Regions from separate parts of the Homo sapiens genome. Here region 1 is linked to region 2. The links are contacts of gene promoters, found by promoter capture Hi-C in blood cells and fetal thymus (Javierre and others, 2016). All regions are on one chromosome and are shown on one strand. The core of a region is centred on a gene start or on the middle of the fragment in contact, and the rest is flanking DNA. Distances in the headings are between cores, read along the strand shown.

Region 1 (3,485 bases), core at 974-3,473, 120 kb after region 2:
AGTGATTTAAGATTATTAGTTTAAAAACCAATGAAGGTAAAACAGTTATCATTGAAGGCACATAGGCAGAAATAGATTGCAATAGTTGCTGCCATGTGAAGCCTCAGTGTCATGCTCCATATTTAGAGAGATCTATGATTTCTGAGGCCCTTTCATGTCCATGATCTCAGTACTGCTCACAACTGCCCTGTGAAATTCGCCGAGCTGGCCCCATGTCAATCAGAGTACACTGAGCACTGAGACCCAGCATGTTGAGATAACTGGCTAGAGATCATCCCATAATGGTACCATCACAATCTTCACACTGTAGAAGTTTGATGATGTCACTGGAAGCATATTCCACAGTCCCTTGTGAACTGGCCTTCCTGTGATCAGAAGCATCAGTGAACTCCCAAGAGGGTGGGAACTCCCAAGAGGTATTCTCACTCTACTTAGTGTATATTTTACAAATCACAAGCTTGGCTTTGGATTCTTTTAATGGCTAGAAGGAGAATCATGGGGTTGGAAGTCCACCAGTTTGGGTATTCTGTTCCCTAACTCAAAATAAAGAGATGTTATTTTCAAGTCTTCTGCTTGTTAACTTAATTAGAGATACATGAGTTTGCAGCTGTGCTGGGCATGCCGCAGCTTGGCATGTTTAGTCCAGAAGGCATATTATAATGTACATGGAAGATTGTCAGAAATTCAAAAGGACTTTTTGAGTATCACATGTGTATTTTCAAGTTCCAATATAGATTCACATTCAGTTTGACAGGTATCTTTGGATGCCTATCAGTTAAGAACTATTTATTAGTTGTGGAATAAAATAGGGTAAAATAAGGAACAACTGAGGAAAAAACATAAAATTTGCTTTGTGAATAAAAGTTGTCTTCAAAATTATGACTTTTTCCATCCCACAAAAGTTTTGATTAAACCCACAATGAAAATTTAAATAAGTGTATTTACTTTGGTTTAACCACTTATTTCATTATGACTCACAACTATAGGTTTTCTAGTTTCCATTATTACAAACTATTGTGTGGTTTAAATCAATTTCATAGACTAGTCTAGTTCTATAGTCACAATTTATAAAATTTTTTTATGTGGTAAATTGAGTGTCTTCATAGATGTACATGATTATTTCTCAATTTTTAAGGAATGTATTTTTTAAGATAGCCTTCTTTAGCCTTCTTTAACACTGATTTTTGTAAATTTTTTACAGATTTTTTTAAATTTTTGGTAATTTTTTAGCATAAAGTAATACATGGTCACTATGGAAAACATAAAAACACAAAAACTATGAAGAGTAAATAAGAAAAACACCCAGAAATTTACCATTCAGAAAAGGTCATTGTTAACAACACGGTGTATCTTCCTCCTGTCATGCTTCCGTGCATTTGAGCACATTTGAGATGTGTATACATGTTCACTTTGAGATTTTAGTATAGCAAAAGAAATGACCGGTCCTGATTCAATGAAACCTCTGGCAAACTCGCTATATTTTCCTTACATATTTTTAAGTTCATCCTATAAATGAACTATCCATTCATCTTATTTGAGATTTTCTTAAATCTTTCAGCAAGAAAGCGGGAAAAAAATCCTCCTCTGGCCTTTAAAGCCTAATTAAATATATGACTAAGCTAGAAATATTTTATAATGACCAACCAGAAAGTGGCAAGGACTGTCACTCTTCCCATACAGCCCACCTCCTCCTCTATCTCCCTCAGGCACACGGAAACGAGAAAGGCAGAGAAACCCAGGACAAGTCATCCAAGACTTTGGTCACATGGCCATCCATTGCTTTCACAACAAAAATATAAATCCAACATGTGTGTGTGCATTTCATACCAGTAGGTCCAATAAGCTATCTATATATACACATATGTGTACACACACACACACACATCCTTACAGACACTCCCCAGCTTACTACAGTTTGACTTAAGATTTTTTGACTTTACGATGGTGTGAAAGCAATGCACATTCAATGGAAACCATACTTCTAATGTTGAATTTTTTATCTTTTCTTGGGTTAGTTGATGTCTGATATGTTACTTTCTTGCGATGCCAGGCAATGGCTGGGAGCCAGAGCTCCCAGTCAGCCATGCAATCAAGAGGCTAAACAGCTGATACTATACAGTGGACTGTGTCACCAGCATTTTGGGGATATTGTGTTTTGTGTTTTTGAATCCTATCATGTCTACAAAATGCCATTTTCGACTGCTATTTTCAATTTAGGGTGGGTTTATCAGGACATAACCCTATGGAAAGTTGAGGACCATCTGTATATCTGGTAGGGAAAGATGGATAACAAATTCATAGGCAAATAATAATTTCATGATTATTATTAAGTTATTCCTACTTAATAATAAGTAGTGATCACTGCCAGGGAGCAGAGAATGCAGGATAATGTGACAGATGTAATGGTGGGTACTTAAGCTAATGTAGTTGCAGAACAGGCTTTTCTAGAGGGTAGGCCTTTAAGCGTACCTCGAAGATGCAAAGGAAGCAAAGATGCGAAGATCTGGGCTGGGGATGGAAGCAGAGACAACTTGGAGGCCAAGGGGAGAGACTGACAACAGCCCAGCTCATACCTCAGCAGCCTTTAATGCATAGCTAAGAAAACAACAAATTAAAACAATTATAGTTTACTTAGACGATTCTAAGTGTCTAAGTGGATTTGGGCAAATCTGGAGAAACTTGTTCTAATACTGTGTCTTAATAAGTAATATAGATTTGCCCAGGCTTGTGGGCAGAGTGGTATACACCCCATAATAGCAGAGGAAGGCCACAGGGCCTACCCTACAAAACCAGAGGCATTTAAAAACTTAAAGGAGGCAGATTGCTTTTATTTTCAGTTAAAATAAAGTGAGGAGTTTCTCAAGAAAAATAATAACGAGACCACCGGCCCGCCCTAGATGTCCAACAAGAATGCACAGATAACTTCGTATATCCACTTTCCTGAACCTGCCCCTGACAGCCAAGTGGAGCACAACAACAGAGATGAACCTCAAAACTACTGTGCTGTGACATAAGGCTTGCTCAAGAGGACAGTGTGGTGTGAGTCCATCTATGTTCTAAAGCAAGCAAAGCTATTCTGTAGTGAAAATGGATCAGGACAGCAGTTGCCTCTGGTGTATGGGGGCAGGGATCGACTGGGAGGGGCATGAGGGATGACAGTTAGGGTTTCGATCATGACAGGAATTCAGATTACTCCAGCATGTGCATTTGTTAAAGCTCATCAAATGCTACACTTAAGATTAATCCTCTCACAGTTTGTGGATGTTACCTTAAAAACAACAATGATGACTGCAAACTAATATTGAACTCTGGTTAGTGATATACCAATGTGAAGTATAGTGATATCTCTACTTTACTTTAAAATGCATCCAAAGGCAGACTAGAGGACCATATCTGACAGACAGAAAAATAGATATGTGATAAGGTGAATGTAGTAAAATGCTAACATAAGGATGTTTGCGGTACAATTCTTTCAGCTTTTCTAT
Region 2 (3,626 bases), core at 996-3,495:
TTAACCAGCTCACAGGTTATCAGATAAGCTTAGTCTGACCAATGCTTAACACAGCAACTGGGCCACTATTGTCATTCCTGTGGTGGTGGCACACACACCCAGCCTCTGTCCGGGCCATGGTCTAGGACCACCCTCCACAGAGGCTGTGAGCTAGAGCCCTAACTGTGCAGGGCCCTAACTATGCCAGGCTACTTATCTCTCTTAAGAGGACTTCATTAGTGCCTGCTCGGCCATACAGTTTTTTACTTACCAAGTAACACAGTTATCAGCACACTCCAGGTACTAGCCAAGGACTACAAAATCAACGTGAATGTCAGCTTTTGTATCAAAAGCTCAAAGGAGAAACTCAAACTTTACATAGATGTCCCATGAAGATGTTCAGCAAACCCATTCTTCTCTGTTCCCTGGAATCCATCCCAGTATTGTGCTATGTGTGTGTCTAGTAATTCTTTACAAAAAGCTCTGTTTCTTGTGATGCTATCAGATCACATTGAAGAATATACAAGCCGTACTATGAAGGCTGTTGTCTCATATAGTCCTAACGTAGTGAGAACTGATGTTCTTACATGCTGTCTTTTTGGGCACTCAAAGAAATTCCTGTACAGTCTTACAAATCAGTTGTAGCTTAAATTGATTTGTGTTGTGACTTGTACACACAGGTCACATTCCCTTGACAGAAAATATAGTTTAAAACCAAATTTGCAGCCCTTGTTAAGTGAATGCACAGGACTTTATTGTATTCAGGTCTTTTATTGTAAGACTCACTCCTGTCTTCATTTTATGTTCCACTGTTGTGCTTCCCATTTGCCTTTCTCTAGTTTTGTTTTCTGTGTTTCTACGGACTGCTCTCAGCCCAGGTGTGCAGGAAGCACACACATGCCTGCAGAGCCTTCATGGCCTCTGCATTCAGGGCATGACTTCAACGCACAGTGGCTGTACTGATTTGTTAAAACAAAGGAACAGATTACTTCTCCTAATTCACAGGGAAGTTCCAGGTTGTGCGGGCAGTGAGCAGACCTGTGTCTGTCTGCGCTTGCCCTGGTGAAAAACCCCACCGTTCAGGCTGCAGGGTGCGAGACCCAGGCACAAACATTTTGCTGGATGAGGAGGAAAGATGTAAGGTTGCTCCCCTTCAGAGACAGCAAAGGGCAGGTCTGTAGCTTCACTTACTTCAGGATTGTGATTTTTGACAGAGCCGAGAGATCAGGGTTGTTGAACCAGGCCTGAAGGTCCTAGTGAATCTCGTGAAGAGAGGAGGGGTCTGGCTGTAACATGGACCTAGAGGACATTTTTACTGCAGGAGAAGGAACAGTGGGGATGGGGTGGACTTGCCAAAGGAATATAGCTCAAGTTCCTGCAGCCCAAAAAAGCTCAGTTTCTTTTGGCCAAAGCTTCCGCGAGTTTCCCTGGCATTTCTCCTGCGGGAGCTACAGGGGCAGTGGGACACTTAGCCTCTCTAAAAGCACCTCCACGGCTGTTTGTGTCAAGCCTTTATTCCAAGAGCTTCACTTTTGCGAAGTAATGTGCTTCACACATTGGCTTCAAAGTACCCATGGCTGGTTGCAATAAACATTAAGGAGGCCTGTCTCTGCACCCGGAGTTGGGTGCCCTCATTTCAGATGATTTCGAGGGTGCTTGACAAGATCTGAAGGACCCTCGGACTTTAGAGCACCACCTCGGACGCCTGGCACCCCTGCCGCGCGGGCACGGCGACCTCCTCAGCTGCCAGGCCAGCCTCTGATCCCCGAGAGGGTCCCGTAGTGCTGCAGGGGAGGTGGGGACCCGAATAAAGGAGCAGTTTCCCCGTCGGTGCCATTATCCGACGCTGGCTCTAAGGCTCGGCCAGTCTGTCTAAAGCTGGTACAAGTTTGCTTTGTAAAACAAAAGAAGGGAAAGGGGGAAGGGGACCCTGGCACAGATTTGGCTCGACCTGGACATAGGCTGGGCCTGCAAGTCCGCGGGGACCGGGTCCAGAGGGGCAGTGCTGGGAACGCCCCTCTCGGAAATTAACTCCTCAGGGCACCCGCTCCCCTCCCATGCGCCGCCCCACTCCCGCCGGAGACTAGGTCCCGCGGGGGCCACCGCTGTCCACCGCCTCCGGCGGCCGCTGGCCTTGGGTCCCCGCTGCTGGTTCTCCTCCCTCCTCCTCGCATTCTCCTCCTCCTCTGCTCCTCCCGATCCCTCCTCCGCCGCCTGGTCCCTCCTCCTCCCGCCCTGCCTCCCCGCGCCTCGGCCCGCGCGAGCTAGACGTCCGGGCAGCCCCCGGCGCAGCGCGGCCGCAGCAGCCTCCGCCCCCCGCACGGTGTGAGCGCCCGACGCGGCCGAGGCGGCCGGAGTCCCGAGCTAGCCCCGGCGGCCGCCGCCGCCCAGACCGGACGACAGGCCACCTCGTCGGCGTCCGCCCGAGTCCCCGCCTCGCCGCCAACGCCACAACCACCGCGCACGGCCCCCTGACTCCGTCCAGTATTGATCGGGAGAGCCGGAGCGAGCTCTTCGGGGAGCAGCGATGCGACCCTCCGGGACGGCCGGGGCAGCGCTCCTGGCGCTGCTGGCTGCGCTCTGCCCGGCGAGTCGGGCTCTGGAGGAAAAGAAAGGTAAGGGCGTGTCTCGCCGGCTCCCGCGCCGCCCCCGGATCGCGCCCCGGACCCCGCAGCCCGCCCAACCGCGCACCGGCGCACCGGCTCGGCGCCCGCGCCCCCGCCCGTCCTTTCCTGTTTCCTTGAGATCAGCTGCGCCGCCGACCGGGACCGCGGGAGGAACGGGACGTTTCGTTCTTCGGCCGGGAGAGTCTGGGGCGGGCGGAGGAGGAGACGCGTGGGACACCGGGCTGCAGGCCAGGCGGGGAACGGCCGCCGGGACCTCCGGCGCCCCGAACCGCTCCCAACTTTCTTCCCTCACTTTCCCCGCCCAGCTGCGCAGGATCGGCGTCAGTGGGCGAAAGCCGGGTGCTGGTGGGCGCCTGGGGCCGGGGTCCCGCACGTGCGCCCCGCGCTGTCTTCCCAGGGCGCGACGGGGTCCTGGCGCGCACCCGAGGGGCGGGCGCTGCCCACCCGCCGAGACTGCACTGTTTAGGGAAGCTGAGGAAGGAACCCAAAAATACAGCCTCCCCTCGGACCCCGCGGGACAGGCGGCTTTCTGAGAGGACCTCCCCGCCTCCGCCCTCCGCGCAGGTCTCAAACTGAAGCCGGCGCCCGCCAGCCTGGCCCCGGCCCCTCTCCAGGTCCCCGCGATCCTCGTTCCCCAGTGTGGAGTCGCAGCCTCGACCTGGGAGCTGGGAGAACTCGTCTACCACCACCTGCGGCTCCCGGGGAGGGGTGGTGCTGGCGGCGGTTAGTTTCCTCGTTGGCAAAAGGCAGGTGGGGTCCGACCCGCCCCTTGGGCGCAGACCCCGGCCGCTCGCCTCGCCCGGTGCGCCCTCGTCTTGCCTATCCAAGAGTGCCCCCCACCTCCCGGGGACCCCAGCTCCCTCCTGGGCGCCCGCGCCGAAAGCCCCAGGCTCTCCTTCGATGGCCGCCTCGCGGAGACGTCCGGGTCTGCTCCACCTGCAGCCCTTCGGTCGCGCCTGGGCTTCGCGGTGGAGCGGGACGCGGCTGTCCGGCCACTGCAGGGGGGGATCGCGGGACTCT

What was found. Contacts are between HindIII fragments. The CHiCAGO score rates a contact against its expected background, and 5 or more counts as called.
Region 1: a contact is called between a fragment that was not itself captured here and the fragment with the promoter of EGFR in region 2, in 1 of 17 cell types (endothelial precursors). The highest score is 6.1, in endothelial precursors.

Annotation. Positions count from the first base shown.
Region 1 is chr7:55,134,704-55,138,188 of GRCh38, forward strand. All of the region lies in intron 1 of EGFR (epidermal growth factor receptor), which reads left to right. Among named protein-coding and RNA genes, the nearest start is that of EGFR-AS1, 53 kb to the right of the region's middle. The HindIII fragment of the contact is 3,536 bases long and covers 456-3,485 here.
Region 2 is chr7:55,016,772-55,020,397 of GRCh38, forward strand. It overlaps EGFR (epidermal growth factor receptor), which reads left to right and starts at 2,246. Exons shown (of 28, transcript NM_005228.5): 1 at 2,246-2,594. The coding sequence starts at 2,507. LOC105375284 (a long non-coding RNA gene) reads right to left here and starts at 2,151. Exons shown (of 4, transcript XR_007060329.1): 1 at 1-2,151. RefSeq lists an enhancer at 3,246-3,626. The HindIII fragment of the contact is 3,906 bases long and covers 1,390-3,626 here.